Regions from separate parts of the Homo sapiens genome. Here all the other regions are linked to region 5. Evidence: promoter capture Hi-C in 16 types of primary human blood cells and fetal thymus (Javierre and others, 2016). All regions are on one chromosome and are shown on one strand. The core of a region is centred on a gene start or on the middle of the fragment in contact, and the rest is flanking DNA. Distances in the headings are between cores, read along the strand shown.

Evidence for each region. The method cuts DNA at HindIII sites, captures the fragments that hold promoters and counts their contacts. A CHiCAGO score of 5 or more calls a contact.
Region 1: a contact is called between a fragment that was not itself captured here and the fragment with the promoter of TP53 in region 5, in 2 of 17 cell types (fetal thymus and naive CD4 T cells). The highest score is 5.8, in fetal thymus.
Region 2: a contact is called between a fragment that was not itself captured here and the fragment with the promoter of TP53 in region 5, in 4 of 17 cell types (fetal thymus, naive CD4 T cells, neutrophils and 1 more). The highest score is 9.4, in fetal thymus.
Region 3: a contact is called between the fragment with the promoter of TMEM95 here and the fragment with the promoter of TP53 in region 5, in 2 of 17 cell types (naive CD8 T cells and total CD4 T cells). The highest score is 5.9, in naive CD8 T cells.
Region 4: a contact is called between a fragment that was not itself captured here and the fragment with the promoter of TP53 in region 5, in 4 of 17 cell types (fetal thymus, naive CD4 T cells, megakaryocytes and 1 more). The highest score is 7.0, in fetal thymus.
Region 6: the fragment with the promoter of SPEM1 here is called in contact with the fragment with the promoter of TP53 in region 5 in 1 of 17 cell types (naive CD4 T cells); the score reaches 5.3 in naive CD4 T cells.

Annotation. Positions count from the first base shown.
Region 1 is chr17:7,392,794-7,395,799 of GRCh38, forward strand. It overlaps PLSCR3 (phospholipid scramblase 3), which reads right to left and starts at 1,732. Exons shown (of 8, transcript NM_020360.4): 1 at 1,684-1,732; 2 at 1,311-1,474; 3 at 808-1,043; 4 at 674-716; 5 at 351-571; 6 at 1-159. The coding sequence starts at 1,317. TMEM256-PLSCR3 (TMEM256-PLSCR3 readthrough (NMD candidate)) reads right to left here. Exons shown (of 10, transcript NR_037719.1): 3 at 2,115-2,297; 4 at 1,311-1,474; 5 at 808-1,043; 6 at 674-716; 7 at 351-571; 8 at 1-159. RefSeq lists a silencer at 1,620-2,109. The HindIII fragment of the contact is 7,925 bases long and covers 1-3,006 here.
Region 2 is chr17:7,324,558-7,327,616 of GRCh38, forward strand. It overlaps NEURL4 (neuralized E3 ubiquitin protein ligase 4), which reads right to left. Exons shown (of 29, transcript NM_032442.3): 2 at 2,883-3,059; 3 at 2,608-2,673; 4 at 2,154-2,452; 5 at 1,880-1,991; 6 at 1,698-1,786; 7 at 1,084-1,156; 8 at 652-916; 9 at 242-423. Among named protein-coding and RNA genes, the nearest start is that of NEURL4, 3.2 kb to the right of the region's middle. The HindIII fragment of the contact is 518 bases long and covers 1,457-1,974 here.
Region 3 is chr17:7,353,472-7,356,672 of GRCh38, forward strand. It overlaps TMEM95 (transmembrane protein 95), which reads left to right and starts at 1,685. Exons shown (of 7, transcript NM_001320436.2): 1 at 1,685-1,902; 2 at 2,115-2,171; 3 at 2,367-2,447; 4 at 2,558-2,578; 5 at 2,725-2,805; 6 at 2,921-3,008; 7 at 3,128-3,201. The coding sequence starts at 1,734. The coding sequence ends at 3,161. KCTD11 (potassium channel tetramerization domain containing 11) reads left to right here. Exons shown (of 1, transcript NM_001363642.1): 1 at 1-1,473. The coding sequence ends at 170. RefSeq lists enhancers at 1,226-1,752, 1,753-2,279. The HindIII fragment of the contact is 23,288 bases long and covers 54-3,201 here.
Region 4 is chr17:8,056,632-8,059,808 of GRCh38, forward strand. No RefSeq gene overlaps it. Among named protein-coding and RNA genes, the nearest start is that of ALOX15B, 19 kb to the left of the region's middle. RefSeq lists enhancers at 1,046-1,563, 1,047-1,116. The HindIII fragment of the contact is 2,579 bases long and covers 521-3,099 here.
Region 5 is chr17:7,685,992-7,688,801 of GRCh38, forward strand. TP53 (tumor protein p53) reads right to left here and starts at 1,499. Exons shown (of 11, transcript NM_000546.6): 1 at 1,386-1,499. It overlaps WRAP53 (WD repeat containing antisense to TP53), which reads left to right and starts at 2,486. Exons shown (of 11, transcript NM_001143992.2): 1 at 2,486-2,570; 2 at 2,657-2,810. The coding sequence starts at 2,658. RefSeq lists enhancers at 220-349, 369-916, 380-429, 390-1,589, 2,388-2,437. The HindIII fragment of the contact is 572 bases long and covers 1,245-1,816 here.
Region 6 is chr17:7,419,023-7,422,133 of GRCh38, forward strand. It overlaps SPEM1 (spermatid maturation 1), which reads left to right and starts at 1,302. Exons shown (of 3, transcript NM_199339.3): 1 at 1,302-1,506; 2 at 1,605-1,665; 3 at 1,859-2,610. The coding sequence starts at 1,363. The coding sequence ends at 2,583. NLGN2 (neuroligin 2) reads left to right here. Exons shown (of 7, transcript NM_020795.4): 7 at 1-838. RefSeq lists an enhancer at 786-1,305. The HindIII fragment of the contact is 12,172 bases long and covers 1-3,111 here.

The sequences.
Region 1 (3,006 bases), core at 496-2,995, 290 kb before region 5:
AAAGTTGGTGTCTGTGCCACAGCCACAGGTCCAGCAGGGCCCCACCACTCGCAAGACTGTCTGGCGATCGGCATCCTGGATGGAGAACTTGGGGAGGAAGGGATGCCAGGTCTGTAGCACGTGGCCAATGGTGGTGCCTGGTGGAGCCTGTACTTCCATCTGGGAGTGGGAAGCAGACAGGGTCACTGCGGAGGCAGGGGTCCCAGCTCTATCATCTGTCTATTTGGCCCTCACTAAACCTCCCATCCCCACCTGCCCACTCCCACCTGATCCAGGCCTCATCTCAGGTGGACCTCATCATTGTCCCGCCCCACCAAGGCCCGCCCTCCCGGCCCCCTCCCTCCGCCCACCTCCTGGAGGCCACAGGGGCAGCAGCTGCAGCCACAGTGCAGCGGGCGGAGCAAACGCAGCACCTCACGGTCCCCGGGGTCGGCCAGGCGGACACGCAGCGGCCGGCGGGCGCCACAGCACAGACGGGCGCAGCAGTTGCTCTCCTCGGCCGCCTGACCCAGGGGCTGCCCGGCCCCAGAGCGCAGTTCATACCGATTACAGGTCTCCCAGCCTAGGAACGCTGCCCGAGGTGACACGGGGAGACTCGTAGAGCCTCGCGCGCCCAGGAGCCCACCATCCGGGCCACCATCATGAGGTCCAACCTCCCACTCCTTCTACTTACTTTCCACTCGCTCAGCCTTCTGGTGAATCAAAATCTGATCAATCTGGAAAGAGAGGGGCGGCGCGCACATCAGCTGGCCCATCTGGACGCCCAAGTCCCCTCCCAGTCATCCTCCCTCCCTCCTTCCCACTCACCTGCACCAGGAATTCGAGGCCAGAAGGCACCCCTGGCAGTGGCAAGAAGGGGGCAGCAGACCCCAAGGCCACGGGGCCAGGCGAGGGGAAGAGGGCGAAGCCGGGAGCTGGGGCAGGTACCTGGGCGGGCACTGGCGCCTGCCCGGGCCCAGGATGTAGCGCCGGCTCCGGGTACCCAGGGGTGACAGGGTAGGGAGGTGGGGGCGAAGGGGCGTAGCCTTTGGGGGGCAAGTAGCCTGTAAAGCGGTGGGAGCAGGATAGATTAGAAAGGGACTCAAGGCCTCATCCCCTTATTCCTCAGCCCATGGGCCGCGAGGCTTCGGGGGAAACGTGGTGGCAAGAGGCAGAGAAAGATGGGGCAGGGGAGCAGGGTGGAGGTTCCCCGGAAGGAAGGGAGGGGCCCCACCCAGCCAGTCCGAGCACATTCCGGGAGGATGTGTTCAAACCCGGCTCCCAAGTCCGTGGGGGGGATAACGGAGACCCCCAGACTTGCGCGCACTTACCTGCCATGGGAGAAGGGCTGGGGTTTTCGAGATGATGGTGTCTGGGTGGCTTAGTTCTGGAAGCGGAGGCAAACTCGGAGATAGCCAGACAGACACAGAGACAGACACAAAGACGGAGAGGCAGCTGCGCCCGGCGCCGGCCCAGGGTCTCTTGGGCGGCGCCTCTGACTCGGGGAGAAACCCAAGTGTCAGTGGGCGGGACCGGGTACCTGGGACCCTGGATTCCCTCGGGGGCCCCAGAACCGCCCCCTCCCTTTGTTCTCCCATCCTGCGGAGGAGGCTGTGGGCCGACGGCAGGACAGATGGACCCGCGGTCAGACCGACAGCCCCACCCCAAGGGCGGTCTCCCTGACCCCTCTGTGCCCCCGCTCACCTGGAGCCCCCAGAAGAGCCCGGGTGCCTAGCACTCGGCAGCTCACAGGAGCTGGCGGAGGCGGAGGCGGGCCCGAGCTCGGACCCCGGCCCCGCCCCCCGACCCGCCGAGCCCGCCCCCTCCTGGGCGGTGCGTTTGCGCCGGGAGGAAGGCAGCCGTCCGCTGCCCCGGGAAGCCGATCGTGGGCTTTGCTCCTCGGCGTCGCCGACGTTCCCGCCCCTTCCGCTCGGACTGCAGATGCCCAGAGAGTAGGAGCGCCTGGAGAAGGCGGCGGCTGGTCCCGGGCCCCGCGAACGCCGCCAGGCCGGCGGCGTGCGTGCTCAGCGCCCTGGGTGGGAGGCGAGGGCGGCCCGGGCCGCGCTGGCCCCTGGGCTCCTCCTCCCAAGGGCAGTCGGGCCTCGCTGACGCAGCGGAACACCCTTCACACTCACTCATTGGCTTCCAGGACTGGCTCCTGGCTCGCCTTCTGCCTCCCAGGGGCGACCTCGCCGTCTTCTCTCCCTGGCACAGCGGTGACCCACACGGGCACCTCGCAGCGACAGCAGTTTCTGCAGGTGCCCCAGCCACGCGGGTGACAGGCCGCCAAACGGTGTCAGTGAGCGTGCTCAGGCCGCCTAGAGGGCCAGAGGAGGAAGCGCGGTCAGAAAAGACCCCCGAGATGAGTGTCTTCGACTGGATCCTGAGCCAGGACCAGTCCTGCCTTGGGGGCCACTGGCTGAGTGGCGCAAGAGATGAGTTTAGAAACGGAGTGCAGTCCACATACAGGGCGGGTTGTGTGGAAGCTGCGATTTGGCCCCACGAGCAGCGAGGAGTCCACCGAGACATTTTTAGAACAAAGAAGGTCAAATGTGTGTTTTAGAAAGATCGTGGCGGGGCGCGGTGGCTCACGCCTGTAATTCCAGCACTTTGGGAGGCCGAGGTGGGCGGATCACCTGAGGTCAGGAGTTTGAGACCAGCCTGGCCAACATGGCAAAAACCCATCTCTACTAAAAATACAAAAATTAGCCGGGTGTGGTGGCGGGCGCCTGTAGTCCCAGCTATGCAGGAGGCTGAGGTAGGAGAAACTCTTGAACCCGGGAGGCAGAGGTTGCAGTGAGCCGAGATTACGCCATTGCACTCCAGCCTGGGCAACAGAGCGAGACTCCATCTCAAAATAAATAAATAAATAAATAAATATTTATTTAGACATCACCAATAAGGCGAAGGCATCACCAATAAGGCGATAGTTAGGCCGGGCACGGTGGCTCACGCCTGTAATCCCAGCACTTTGGGAGGCCGAGGCAGGCGAATCATGAGGTCAGGAGATGGAGACCATCCTGGCCA
Region 2 (3,059 bases), core at 466-2,965, 360 kb before region 5:
CTCCCGAGCCCACAGTCCACCTTGCCTTTTCTTTGATGACTAGATTTCTTCCCTGAGCAGGACAAGAAAACTCTGCAGCTTCCAAGACAGCCACAGCCCTGCCCACGGGACACTCTCTAGCCACTGAATGAGTGGTCACAAGAGTGACAAGTGAAAAAGGAGCTGCAGAACAAGTGCCAGGGCTTTGGGGATAGCTTCCCCCCAAAACCCTATCCTGTCCCTGCCCTTCCTGGGAGCTCACCAGAGCGCAAGTTGGTCATGGTGGAGGGCAACTGGAGGTAGGCAGGGTTGTGGGTGGTGACACCAATTTCAATGGAGCCAGCCCATTTGTCCACCATCTTGTCGATGCGCACCTGGAACACCTCTCCATCCCGCAGGGCTCTGCTGCTCAGCACCACGCCGTGATTGAAGTCATCGGTGGCACTGAGGGCACAGCAAGTGGAGAGTCAGATCCCCAACACACGCTCTCAATGTGCCAAGGCTTAGCCCAGCAATGCCTGCCAACACTCACTGCCCCAAGCCAAAGAACTAAAGCTCAACCTCCAGGAAGCTGCCCCCGCCAGGCTCCCTCTGCCTTCCACTTCCTTGCCCCGCCCCCCCCCCCCCATTAGAATCCCTTCTTCAGGCTTCTCCCCACCCCATGGGCCATACTGGGGCCTCAGGGCAGTGCGTCCCTCGTGGGTGATGGCTGCCTTCTGCCCACAGTTGGGGTGGAAGAGCAGGCGCTCAGGTTCTGCCTGGGCGGCAGGGGCAGCACGGCGGAGAGCACCCTCGGGGGACAGCGCCCGCAGGATGGCGTTGTTTCGGCGGAGACGGTCACTGTGGTTGTTATTGTGGACGATGGTCACCTTCACTGCCATCCCGTACAAGTCCACCACACCATACACCACTGGGGGCGTCAAGGGGGTTGCCACTCCTGTGGCAGGAAGGTACGGGGGTGTGGGAGTGGACAGGGAGAATGAGGGGAGAAAGTCAAACACAGGGAGGCCAAGCACCAAAGAGAAGCAGGAGGATGAGGTACAGCCCCCAGTCCCAGCCCCACCGAAAGCCCCGGCCCAGAGGCTCTCTCTGGGCGGCCCTTACCCTGATCGATACCATTAATGAAGAAGTGTAGGGCAGAGTTGGACTTCCTTGTGAGGCCAATGTGGTCACCCTCCTAATCAAAGAAGACAAACAGTTTAGAGGAGTCCTGAGGCCTGCTCAGCACCCCACTCCACACAGGAACAACTCCAGAAGGTATTCGTGAGAGTCTCAGACCACCCTGGAGGACAGGTCCTGGGTCCTTGTTTTCCAGACATGACAATTTCCACATTTCGTCAATGCTCCACGTGAGTCAGGCACTGAGTTAAACCACCTCACAGACATTAGCTTCTACAAGTCTCAGCCTATGGAATAAGTACTACTCGTAGGCTCATTTTAGAGATTGCAGGAGGTGGGGGAGCAATCAAAGAGGATAAGCTTCTTGCCCCGGTTCGCTACTACAAATGGGAAAACAGTAAGAGGAATTCAACCATCTGACTCCAAAATCTGAGTGCTGAACTCTTGGGCAACTCAGGCTTCTAGGAAGGAACCTTTAGGTGGAAGATACAGGGACTGCCTCTAGGTCACATAGGAGACCCTGCTTGGTGCCCTGGCAGGGACACAGAGTACCTGTGGCTCTGCTGAAAGCGGCCCAGGGATCTGTGCCCCACCCTCACCTGCAACTCATCCAGACTGAATTCGCAGTACTCCCGGCGGGTGCCCTTGCCATTGGTCAGGATTCCACAGCCGCTCATCATGATGGTGCCTGGGTGATAGTGGACACTTGGGTTCGGGTACGGGGCTTCCTTCCCCTCAGCAACACCAGGCCTGCACCCCCGCCCCTGCCCGGGGCTGGTACCTGACTGGAGGTTGGTCATGGTGGCTGGGTACTCCAAACTGTTGGGGTTGTGGGTGGTGACCCCAATCTCAATGGAGCCTGACCACTTATCAACAAGCTTGTCGATACGGATCTGGCATTGAGGGACAGAAGGGAGAAGCAGGGAATGTAAATGCAGAAAGGGACCTTCAGCCCTTGGTTCTTCCCCAGGGCCCACCCTCCTAGCACCAAGGGTCAATCCCCATCTTTAGCTCCCAGGGATAAGGCGCCAACCAGACCACAGGACTTTGCACACCTCAAACATCTCATTGTCCCGAAGGGGGCGATTGGTCATGACAACCCCATTGTTGAATTCATCCAGGGGCCGCCGGCGCTCAGCCGTCTTATTATTGTTGCTGAGTTTGATGAGGGTCCCGCACTTTTCATGAAAGAGCAGGGCATCGTTGGAAGTGAGAATGGGCGAGGTGGCAGCACCGCTAGATCCCAGGCCTTCCCCTGCCGGTGGGGAGCTCAGGTTCACATTCAGGAGCCCTCCATTGTAGGCAGACAGGATGGTGTTGCTCACCACCTCAGACAGCTCCATGTTGGCAAAGTCTATAGCAGCAGGATGGAAGAAGGAAGCTCGGAAGTTGGGATGAGGCTCTACACCCCCAGACCTGGTGCCTCTCTCCCTACCCCTTCTCCTGAGGGCCCTCCCTTGTCCACCTCACTTCCCACTCCCCTTCCCAGGGCCTCCCCAAAGCCCTCACCATTATGCGACTCAAGGCTGTTAGGAAACGTCTCCGGCCGGGCCTGCGCTGGGGACACCATGAAGGCTGGGGACCAGGTGGGATGGGAGGGGAATAAGGGTTCAGTCCCTGCTTCACGGCCCATAGCCAGGAGAACCCCCCATCCTCTAGCTCCTGCTCTCCCATTCAACAGACTTGGGGATCAGGGTGGCCCTGCCCACACCCAGCCTGTCTTGTCACTCTATTTCCCCCATTCCGTCCCCACCCCACCACCACTGCCCTAGCTGTGTTCTCACCTTCATCTGCAGAGGTCCCCTGTTCAGCCAAGGCAGAGTCTTCAGTGGGGGCCAAGGGCTCGAGGGGAGGTGTGGGGATGGGAGTAGGGGGGCTGAAGCCTGGCTCAGGGGGTAGCACGGTGATCTGGGTGCACTTGCCATAAAGGTCCACGACGGCCCAGACACGAGGGGGCAGGC
Region 3 (3,201 bases), core at 435-2,934, 330 kb before region 5:
AGCCGCTGTGGACTGGGGGGCCAGGAGAGCGGCGGGAGGTGGTGGGCACCCCAAGCTTCCTGGAGGAGGTGCTGCGGGTGGCTCTCGAGCACGGCTTCCGACTAGACTCTGTCTTCCCCGACCCCGAAGACCTGCTCAACTCCAGGTCTCTGCGCTTTGTCCGGCACTGAGGATGCTGTTCTCAGTTTGACTGTGGGGAGGAGAGAGAATGGGGTACTAGCACCCCTGAAGCCTCTTTCCAGCTCTGCTTCAGGAGCTATGAGAGTCGGGACTCTCCTGCACCTGACTGGAGCTCAGATGTGGGCAGGAATTCCCAAACCTGAGCCCACCAAGGACTCACAAGTGGTCCAGAAGGTCTCAACCTGTGCTGACCCTGGGAGGGGTAGGGAAGGTTCTCTCAGCTTGTTCTTGCCTAAGGCTGAGCACCTCCAGTCTCTCCTTGATTTGGAGCTCAGTGTTTAAGGGCTTGGAAAAGGGGGGAACATCTCTTTACCCAGACTAGACCTAGCAAAACCCTGGAAGGATATTGAGGTCTGGGGAAAAGGGAGGACTTTGCATTTTCCCAATGCGGTCTCTTGGACCATGGCTTCTACTCCTGAAGCTGGGTGGCCTGGCCTGGCCTGACCAATGAGAGGCCAGAACACTCTGGAACATCGGAAGAGGAGTTCTTTGCTATGTTCCAAGCCATCTACTGAGGGAGGCAGAAAGGCCACAACCCACCCTAGGTTGATGTATGGGAGCTAGGACAGTCCCCATGGCAATGGGGCTGGAGCATCCCTCATCTGGAAGAATCCCATACTGATGGCAGGGCTGGCCAGGGGGAAGAGGGTAGTATCTGTGGGTCCTGGCCTTTCTTCATGTGTGCGTGCATATCAGCCCGTGTGGCTGACTGATGTATAGGTCCCTGGCATCCTGGTTCATATCTGTGTTGCTGACTACAGTGTCTGTGATGTCCGCATGTCCAGGCCTGTTTGGGGTTGCCTAGCGACTCTTCTGGCACAGGGTGTGTCTGTGGTATACCTGTGAGGTGGTTGACAATTAGTAGTTTAATCACAGGGTGTGTGTGTGTGTGTGTGTGTGTGTGTTTATGTGCACGCATGTATATGCATCACCACGTAGCCAGGAGGGGCCTGTTGGGGTTTGAGTCACTGGGATCTTCCTGGTGAGAGGTAAGAGAAGTCACTGGGCTTAGCTGGGCCTCTGAGGCCTGTATGGAACTCTTGGTTGCTGAGGCAACCATGGACCTGTTGCTAGGAGATAGCTGGGGAAGGCCCAAGGCCGCCCAGGGCAGAGAGAGGAGACGAAGAGTTTGGGACAGTGGGGGAGGAGATGGGAAGGGATGGGATTTCTGGGTCCCAGAGCGGGTGGGATACTCACGCACAGCTTCTTCACTGGTGGGGGGTGGGGCACACATTATTTCTCACTGGTCATGATTTACAAGAAGAAAAATAAAACTGCTTTTGGAACCACAAACTTGTGAAGGCTGTTGAGGGCCAGGTTGGGGGTGCTGTCCCCTCACAACAGAAGCCCTGCTTTCTCTGCCCATCGCCTGCTGGAGATGCCTTCTGGACCCCAGTTCCTTGAGCCCCAGCTTTACCCCAGCTGAGGATGGGCAGTGCCATTGTTCATTGTTCTGGAACATTCTAGAACCTCCAGGCAAGGGCTGGAGCCAGGGCTGCAGAGCATTCCTCGGCTCAGCTGGGGCAGCGCCGCCCCATCCCCCAGTGGTCCTCATGTGGAGGCTGGCACTAGGCGGGGTTTTCCTGGCAGCCGCCCAGGCTTGTGTCTTCTGTCGCCTCCCAGCCCACGACTTGTCAGGCCGCCTGGCTCGGCTCTGCAGCCAGATGGAGGCCAGGCAGAAGGAATGTGGGGCCTCCCCAGACTTCTCGGCCTTTGCCTTAGGTAGGACCAGACATCCAGGGATGGGCCCAGCAAGCACTCACCCCCCTACCCCCAGAGGGTGGCATGTGACCTTCCAGCTGTGCCCTCCATCTGTGGCCCTTTCTGGACATGCTGGCCTTTCCCTCTGAGAGAGCTCCATATCTGGGAAAGTCAGGAGAGACCCCAGAACCTGGGCTGATGAGGGAATCGCTGGTCCTTGCCCATCTCCACAGATGAGGTGTCCATGAACAAAGTCACAGAGAAGACTCACAGAGTCCTGAGGGTCATGGGTGAGGTCAAGGGGAAAGAGTGACCTAGGGGCTTGGGAGGATACCAAGGAGAGGGACGGGTGACAGGGGTTGGGGTGGGCAGGGAAGGGTGGAGGGGTAGAGACAGGAGGGCTGATCAGGGAGGGGCTGCGTGAAGAGAGGGGGAACTGGCCCCGTCGAGGCCCAGGGAAACGGAGCTGCTGTCTGCCTCCCCAGAAATCAAAGAGGCTGTCTCCTCACTCCCTTCATATTGGAGTTGGCTTCGAAAGACCAAGCTCCCTGAGTACACCAGGGAAGGTACCGATGCGGGATGGGCCTCAAGGGGAGCCTAGGGTCTTAACCAAAGGAATGTGTGGTGAGCAGCTCATCCATTCACACCCCCACCCCTTCCTTGTCTTTCATTTCAGCTCTCTGTCCCCCCGCCTGCCGTGAGTAGGAAAGGAAAGGGGTAGCAAGGACCTGGGGCCTGCAGGGTGTCAGAGGAGGGCCTGGCAGCTGCAGGAGGAAGCTGGGTACCAGGCAGGGTGGAGGCCCGGCCTCCCCTCCCCAGCGTTGCCTCTGCTGTCTCCTGCAGGGGGCAGCACCACGCTGTACAACTGCTCCACCTGCAAGGGGACGGAGGTGTCCTGCTGGCCCCGAAAGCGCTGCTTCCCAGGTCCTCACGCCCATCTTGGCCCCGCCCCACCTTGCCCAGATCCCTGAGCCCTTGGGCTCCCAAGTCGGTGCGTGTGGGTCCCAGAATCATTCACTGCCTCCTGGGTTCCCTGCAGGAAGTCAGGATCTTTGGGAAGCCAAGATTCTGCTCCTCTCCATCTTCGGAGCTTTCCTGCTTCTGGGTGTTCTGAGCCTCCTGGTGGAGTGAGTTTTGGGATAAAGACAGGAATCCTACCCCGCCCAGTGCCTTCCACCACCCATCCTCCCTCCCTCTGTCCCTCCCAGGCCCCTCCCGTAGGCTTCCCACCCTCGTCTTCCCTCAGGTCCCACCACCTCCAAGCAAAAAGTGGCTTGTGAAGACGCTGAAAACCTCCCAGCCTCCAGCTCTAAGGGGTAT
Region 4 (3,177 bases), core at 560-3,059, 370 kb after region 5:
CTGTTTGCTTTCACGTCCTGTTCTGTTCTATTAGCCGCTTAGTTGGACTCTGATGATTATCTGTAAGTTAAACATAGAGTATTAGCTTACGTAGTGGAACAGTAAATAGTATTAACTGGCTAATGACCGACACAGCAGGCTCCGCCACCTCTCCCTATGCTCACCCAATGATCACCTCACCATCAGCCCACCCTCAGCCTATAGGATCAAAGGAACTGTACTCAATAAATATCAGTGGAACCCAGAGCTCCTGGCCTTTGCAATCTCCACGTTGCGATGGATCCTTGGACCCACTTTTGTTAACTCTTAAACTTTGTGTCTTTGTCTTTATTTCTTTTCTCATTCCCTCGTCTCCACCGGGAAGGGGAGAGCCTGCGGGTGGTGTATCAGGCAGGTTCCCCTACATCTTTGGCACCCAACACGGTCTCCTTGAACCCAGGTGAAGTTACACCTGAGCGTGGTCGTTGTGAAGAACGGTCTGTCCAGGAACTCCCGAGAACGTGTGGTCGGCCTTGCGGTAAGCTTGTGCACTCGGAGCATTCCAGGGACACCATGGGACAATCCAAAAGTAAACATTCTGCATATTTACATTTTATTAAGCTCCTCTTAAAGAGGGCAGGAATTAAGGCTAGCACAGAAAATTTGATTACTCTGTTTCCAACAGTAGAGCAATATCGTCCTTGGTTTCCTGAACATGGTACCATGGACTTCAAAGATTGGGAACAGGTGGGAATTGCCTTAAAACAAGTTTGTAAGGAAGGAAAATTTATCCCCCTAACAGCCTGGTCAAACTGGGCTATAGTTAAAGCAGCCTCGGAACCGTTTCAATCGGAAAATGAGGCTTATCCTCCAGCAGAAAGAATTTCTGCAGAGGAAGGTGGTGATGCTGCTGAAGGAGGAGAGGATAGTGAAGAAGATTTTGAGGAAAATACAGACAAACCTGGAGATGAGTTAATTTCTTTTGAGGAGCACGTGGGACCTTCAGCTGCTCCTAAAATAGAGAAGCCATATATGCCAAGATGTTTAAAACAAAGAAGGGCCTTGAGGAGCAGTCGGCTCCTCATTGGGATCATCCGGAGTGGCCGCCTCCAATAAAGCAATGTAGCTTGGAGCCTTGGAGGTCTGAATCTCAAATTTGCCCTGTTTCACGAATGAATGAATTGTGGCCTCAGGAACCACGAGCGCATGGTGTAGCACCAGTACAACATAAGGCTGCACTGCCATCTAATGTTAATGAATCGCCATTACAGTTTACTATTCGGCAGGCTAGATTAGCCGGAGATCTTGATGCCTGGCAGTTTGCAGTAGTTTTGCAACCCCCACGACAGCAAGGTGGAGCCCATCAAGCGGTATGGGAACCATTTTCTTTTAAGCTGCTCAAAGATCTTAAAGCAGCTGTTGGTCAGTATGGTCCCAATTCGCCTTTCATCCGATCGCTATTGCAATCTGTGGCTCAGAATAAGCTATTGACTCCGTGTGATTGGGAGATTTTAACGAAAGTTACACTTTCGCCCTCCCAATTTCTTCAGTTTAAGACTTGGTGGACCGACGAGGCTCAAAATCAAGATCGAAAAAACCGTGCTGCTAATCCTGCTATTGCCATTACATTTGAACAACTTCTAGGAATAGGGGGTCAATGGGGAACTGTAAACAACCATCAGGACTTCGAGATGATGCCATTGAACAAATTCGCAATTGCTGTTTGAGGGCATGGGAGAAAATTCAGGATCTGGGAACTACTTATCAGTCTTTTAATTCTATTAGACAAGGCTCAAAGGAACCATATCCTGATTTCATTGCTCGCCTTCAAGACGCAGCACAGAAGGCTCTCACTGATGAAAGTGCCAGGAAGGCCGGGTGCGGTGGCTCATGCCTGTAATCCCAGCACTTTGGGAGGCCGAGGTGGGCGGATCACCTGAGGTCGGGAGTTGGAGACCAGCCTGACCAACATGGAGAAACCCCGTCTCTACTAAAAATATAAAAATTAGCCGGGCGTGATGGCACATGTCTGTAATCCCAGCTACTCAGGAGGCTGAGGCAGGAGAATTGCTTGAACCCAGGAGGCGGAGGTTGCGGTGAGCCGAGATCACGCCACTGCACTCCAGCCTGGGTAACAAGAGCGAAACTCCGCCTCAAAAAAAAAAAAAAAAAAAGAAAGAAAGAAAGAAAGTGCCAGGAAGGTGATTGTAGAATTATTGGCTTGTGAGAATACTAACCCTGAATGCCAGTCAGCTATTCACCCAGTGAAAGGAAAGGTTCCGGTGGGAGTTGATGTGATTAATGAATATATCAGGGCATGTAATGGAGTTGGTGGAATCATGCATAAGGCTATGATAATGGTTCAAGCCACGACAGAGTTAAAAGTGGGAGGTCCAATTAAAAACTTTTCAGGCAATTGTTACAATTGTGGGCAATTTGGACACACAAAAAAGGAACGTAAGAACAAATCGAACAAACAGGCAAGATATAATCAAATAAAAGAACCACCTGGCTTATGTCCCAGGTGCCAGAAGGGTAAACATTGGGCTAATCAGTGTCACTTCAAATTTGACAAAAATGGCCAACCGTTACAACCGCAGTCGGGAAACAGGAAGAGGGGCCAGCCTCAGGCCCCGCTCCAAACGGGGGCATTCTCACTCCAGCAGTTGGTCCCTCAGTCGGTCATTGCCTCTAGTCCAACCACCATCATTGTCTCTTGCCCAACCACCACAGTAACACAATTGGCGCCAGCTACAGCAGGGAGTACAGGCTTAGATTTATGTTTCCCAAAAGCTATCTCTCTGCTTCCAGGGAAATCCCCTCAAAAAGTCCCCACTGGAGTATTTGGCCCTTTACCTGATGGACAGTTGGACTTGTTTTAGGAACATCTAGTCTAAACTTAAAAGGAGTTCAGATTCATACTGGGCTGATTGATTCAGATTTTGTGGGAGAAATTCAATTGGTTATTAGTTCCAGTATTCCTTGGAGTGCAAACCCAGGAGATAGAATTGCTCAGCTGTTGTTATTACCTTATGTAATAGTAGAAAAAAGTACAGTAAAAAGAGAAAGTGGTTTTGGCAGTACTGACAGTGAAGGAAAAGCAGCCTATTGAGTAAATCAAGCTTCTAAAAACAGACCTGTGTGCACAATGATTCAGGGAAAACAGTTTGAAGGACTGGTAGACACAGGTGCTAATAT
Region 5 (2,810 bases), core at 249-2,748:
GGCCGGTACGCGGCAGGTGCATGGGAAGAAACTGCGGAATGAAACAACCGCGAGCTAAGAGATGGGGCAGCGGGAGAAATGAATTCGAGTTCCGCCTCCTACCAGGAAGAACCGGCTCGGGCCGGAGGGCTGCACGGAGGACCACACGGACGCCTGCGGGCCCGCCCCTTCCGCTTCACGACGTTCAGCCTGCGTCTGGAACTGGAATGGCCTAGCCCAAAGCTAGATAACAGGTAGATTGTTTTTCCGACAAATTATCAAACGACCCATCATTGCACTCTTTCAAAATTTGATTCTCAGACGTACCCATTCTTTTTTTTTTTCCTCCGGGAAGATGAGATATACTCATTCTTGAAAATACCTCCGGGCTTGCCTTCTGCACACTTCTTTCCCTCCCTGTCTCACGCCATGGTAGCGTCCGCCTAGGTTGCAGGCGACCCGCGGGGTGGGGCACACCATTCAAAGAAGGGGAGGGATTGAGGTTTGCATCAAAACAAATACCCCTGCCTTTGCAAAGGCCATAACTAAGTAATCCAGAAAAAGAAATGCAGGCGGAGAATAGCAGCCTCCCTCTGCCAAGTAAGAGGAACCGGCCTAAAGGACATTTTCTCTCTCTCTCCTCCCCTCTCATCGGGTGAATAGTGAGCTGCTCCGGCAAAAAGAAACCGGAAATGCTGCTGCAAGAGGCAGAAATGTAAATGTGGAGCCAAACAATAACAGGGCTGCCGGGCCTCTCAGATTGCGACGGTCCTCCTCGGCCTGGCGGGCAAACCCCTGGTTTAGCACTTCTCACTTCCACGACTGACAGCCTTCAATTGGATTTTCTCCATCTAGCGGAGCCGGGGGCTGCCTGGAAAGATCGCTCCAGGAAGGACAAAGGTCCGGAAGTTGTGGGACCTTAGCAGCTTGGGCTCCCCGGATCACCCCCAAATGATCATTTCGGAATGGAGCCCCAGTTTTCACTAGGATGCCATGGGCTCTAAAATATACAGCTATGAGTTCTCAATGTTTCGAGATCCAAAAGTCTCAGACCTCAATGCTTTGTGCATCTTTTATTTCAGGGATTCCCTACGCCCAGCACCGGGTGGATGTGCAAAGAAGTACGCTTTAGGCCGGCTCAAGGTTCCCCAAAGCTCCACTCCTCTGCCTAGGCGTTCAACTTTGAGTTCGGATGGTCCTAACATCCCCATCATCTACACCCAGGTCTCCCAACAATGCAACTCCTATGATGATCCCTCTAGCCAAGCTTCCATCCCACTCACCCCCAAACTCGCTAAGTCCCCACTGCCCCACCCCCAGCCCCAGCGATTTTCCCGAGCTGAAAATACACGGAGCCGAGAGCCCGTGACTCAGAGAGGACTCATCAAGTTCAGTCAGGAGCTTACCCAATCCAGGGAAGCGTGTCACCGTCGTGGAAAGCACGCTCCCAGCCCGAACGCAAAGTGTCCCCGGAGCCCAGCAGCTACCTGCTCCCTGGACGGTGGCTCTAGACTTTTGAGAAGCTCAAAACTTTTAGCGCCAGTCTTGAGCACATGGGAGGGGAAAACCCCAATCCCATCAACCCCTGCGAGGCTCCTGGCACAAAGCTGGACAGTCGCCATGACAAGTAAGGGCAAGTAATCCGCCTGCCGGAGGAAGCAAAGGAAATGGAGTTGGGGAGGAGGGTGCAGAGTCAGGATTCTCGCCGACCTGGTGCCGTAGATACTAACATTTTGGGGTGGAAAATTCTGCAAGCCAGAGCTGTGAGGGCAGAATTGGTGGAAATCATTTTGGAGGAATCCTGCATTGTGTCAAATATGAAGGGTGGAAGGAAGAAAGCTTTTGCGTTTGCTCTCAGCTGGATCCTTTCTTCTCATCAGTTAAAATGTCATTTTTTAGGAAGGCTTTCCGTAATATCACACCCTAACGTTTTCTCCCAGATACTTTATATCACACCATCTTATTTAATCTCCTTCACAACCCTTATCACTCTGATAAGATTTATTTGTTCATTGCTTTCAGTACATGGAAACGTAAGCCTTATGAGGATATAGAATTTTTCTACTATCTTATTCATTGTTGTATTCCTGAGTGCCTATATCAGTGCTGGGTAGCAAGTAAGAGCTCGATAATAAATATTTTTTGAATGAGGGAGACAGGTCTGAAGCCTGGAGAATGAGATGCAGAAGAGGTGCAAGACCTGCTGCGCCCTCTGCAGGCGGCGGGGGGGCGGTGCAGGTGCTTTAAGAATTACCGCGGGACTCGGTAGGGGGAGCGTAGGCGCTTCTCGCCAAGATAGAAGCGTTCAGACTACAACTCCCAGCAGCCACGAGGAGCCCTAGGGCTTGATGGGAACGGGAAACCTTCTAACCTTTCACGTCCCGGCTCCGCGGGTTCCGTGGGTCGCCCGCGAAATCTGATCCGGGATGCGGCGGCCCAATCGGAAGGTGGACCGAAATCCCGCGACAGCAAGAGGCCCGTAGCGACCCGCGGTGCTAAGGAACACAGTGCTTTCAAAAGAATTGGCGTCCGCTGTTCGCCTCTCCTCCCGGGAGTCTTCTGCCTACTCCCAGAAGAGGAGGGAAGCACAGGTGGGTTTCTTTAGCTCTGCGTCGGATCCCTGAGAACTTCGAAGCCATCCTGGCTGAGGCTAATCTCCGCTGTGCTTCCTCTGCAGTATGAAGACTTTGGAGACTCAACCGTTAGCTCCGGACTGCTGTCCTTCAGACCAGGACCCAGCTCCAGCCCATCCTTCTCCCCACGCTTCCCCGATGAATAAAAATGCGGACTCTGAACTGATGCCACCGCCTCCCGAAAGGGGGGATCCGCCC
Region 6 (3,111 bases), core at 52-2,551, 270 kb before region 5:
ATGTCTCCCCCACCCTGCCTCAGTTCTCCGTTCCCCTTCATCTCCGTCCCCCTCTTTGAAGCTGTCCCCATCTCAGTGTCAGACCAGCCTTCTCCTCAGCTGACCACCCTCCTCTGACCCACGCCCCCTCCTTGTCTGAAAGAAAGGAGCCTTGAATGGTGGAGGGAGGCAGTGGGGAGAAAGGTCTCACCGGACAGGTTGGGAGAATGAGGTCAGCGGTGCTGGGGAACAGATGGAGGGGGCAGTGGGGACAGGGCTTGGGCAGACACCAGCAGGAATAATTTGAAATGTGTGAGGTGACTCCCCGGAGGGCCTTGGGCTTGGGCATTTGGGAAAAGAATGATGTCTGGAAGGGCTTAAGGGACACAGTGGACGAGGGGAGAGTCCTCATCTGCTGGCATTTTGTGGGGTGTTAGTGCCAAACTTGAATAGGGGCTGGGGTGCTGTCTTCCACTGACACCCAAATCCAGAATCCCTGGTCTTGAGTCCCCAGAACTTTGCCTCTTGACTGTCCCTTCTCTTCCTACCTCCATCCATGGAAAATTAGTTATTTTCTGATCCTTTCCCCTGCCTGGTCTAGCTCCTCTCCAAACAGCCATGCCCTCCAAATGCTAGAGACCTGGGCCCTGAACCCTGTAGACAGATGCCCTCAGAATTGGGGCATGGGAGGGGGGCTGGGGGACCCCATGATTCAGCCACGGACTCCAATGCCCAGCTCCTCTCCCCAAAACAATCCCGACAATCCCTTATCCCTACCCCAACCCTTTGCGGCTCTGTACACATTTTTAAACCTGGCAAAAGATGAAGAGAATATTGTAAATATAAAAGTTTAACTGTTGGTTGTGCCTGCTCTGTTGTGGGGAGGGCGGTCTCTAAAGAAACAAGCCCTGGGGAAGTGACGAGGGAGGAGGGGTCTTTTCAGTGACCAGCTCTGAGGTCTGAGAGGAAGGGGGAGTGTGTGCTGGGGTCTGGTTGCCATGGTAATGGGTCTGTTTGGCAAATGAATGTCAGGACCCGTGTCTATGCCGAGACTGGAGCCTGGTGTCGTTCTATAATGGAAGGACAAAGGCTGATGGGGGCAGATGTCAAACAGGCCAGAGGCCCAGTGGGCTGGTGTAGGCAGCTAGCTCAGCAGAGGTATGTGAGGTGAGAGGCATGGCCTCTGCCAAGGCCTGGACTCAGGCGAGAGGGTCAGCCACGGGTCCAGGACTCAGGGTAGCCCCTTGGCACACTGGAAGGGAGTGGCCTGGCACCATTGTGACCCGTTCACTCCCAAGACCCTCAGGGACAGGCAGGCAGTCAGTGGACACTGTCGGCACGGTGGGCTGGGGGCGTAAGGGCCCCGGTGGTCCTAGGGACCCCATGGCCATGGTTGAGCGGCCGAGGCCCGAGTGGGCCTCGTATCACAACTGCAACAGCAACAGCTGCCAGGACCTGGGCAACTCTGTCCTGTTGCTGCTGGGCCTCATCATCTGCATTAACATTAGCATCAATATAGTGACCCTGGTCAGGGTGGGGCCAGATGGGAGGGAGCTGGTGGGATAGTGGGGGGCAGGCCTGCCGGCCAGGGCCTACCTGGGATCACTGTGTCTTCCCCCACCTAGCTCTGGAGCCGATTCCGTGGTGTCTTATACCAAGTGTTCCATGATACCATTTGTGAGAAAGGTAAGAGGTCTGGGGGCTGGGACATAGGAGGGGCAGAAACCAAGTGCTCTAGCCTCAGCCCTAAATTAGCCCCTTCCCTTCTTGCTCGCCCCTCTCAGACAACATAGCTGTGTGGCTGCCCTTCCTGGGCCCTGCCTCTCCATGCCTGTAGGAGCTGGCCTCCCCACTAGTCTCACCTCTCCCCCATCCACAGAAGCTCCCAAGTCATCATTACTCAGAAAGCAGACCCAGCCCCCTAAGAAGCAGAGTTCTCCTGCAGTCCATCTTCGGTGCACCATGGACCCTGTGATGATGACTGTGTCCCCGCCCCCAGCTCACCGCCATCGCCGTCGAGGCTCTCCCACACGCTGTGCTCACTGCCCAGTAGCTTGGGCTCCTGACACTGATGACGAGAAGCCTCATCAGTACCCAGCCATCTGCTCCTACCACTGGGATGTCCCTGAGGACTGGGAAGGCTTCCAACACACTCAGGGGACCTGGGTTCCCTGGTCTCAGGATGCCCCAGAGTCCCCTCCCCAGACCATCCGCTTCCAGCCTACCGTAGAGGAAAGGCCCCTCAAAACAGGCATATGGTCCGAGCTGGGCCTAAGGGCCTATGTGTATCCTGTGAACCCCCCACCTCCCAGCCCTGAGGCTCCTAGCCACAAGAACGGTGGGGAGGGGGCGGTGCCAGAGGCAGAGGCGGCTCAGTACCAGCCTGTCCCAGCTCCCACCCTGGGCCCAGCAGTCATCCCTGAATTTTCCCGGCACCGCTCCTCAGGCCGAATAGTGTATGATGCCCGGGACATGAGACGGCGGCTTCGGGAACTGACCCGGGAGGTGGAGGCCCTGTCCGGCTGCTACCCCCTAGCCTCTGGATCCAGCACTGCCGAGGAGACAAGCAAGAATTGGGTGTACCGTTCCCTAACTGGGAGGTGACTGGAAAAAAATAAAAAGGAGAGAGGAGGTGATCTGTGGTGGTGCTGGGGTGCCAGGGCCCACACAGCACCTAGAAGCTGTGGCTGTGAAGAGAATGCTCTCCCTAGCCACAGGGCCCTGAGCCCTGAGGACCCTCATTAACCTTTTGCCCCACAGGCCTGTCCCTGTCCTCAGCCTTTCCTAGGCCCTTCTGGGTTCCAAGGCTCTTACCTGCCTCTACCTTGTTTTCAATTTTTTTTTTTTTTTGAGACAGGGTCTTCTCTGTTGCCCGGGCTGGAGTGCAGTGGTGCAATCACAGTTCACTGCAGTCCCAACTGTCTCCCACCTCAGCCTCCTGAGTCACTAGGACTACAGGCATGGGCCACTAGTTTGTTGTTGTTGTTGTTGTTTGTTCGGTTGGTTGGTTTTTGTGTGGGGGGGGTTGTTTTTGTTTTTAAGACAGAGTCCTATTCTTGTCACCCACACTGGACTGCAATGGCACAATCTTGGCTCACTGCAACCTCTGCCTCCCAGGTTCAACCAATTCTC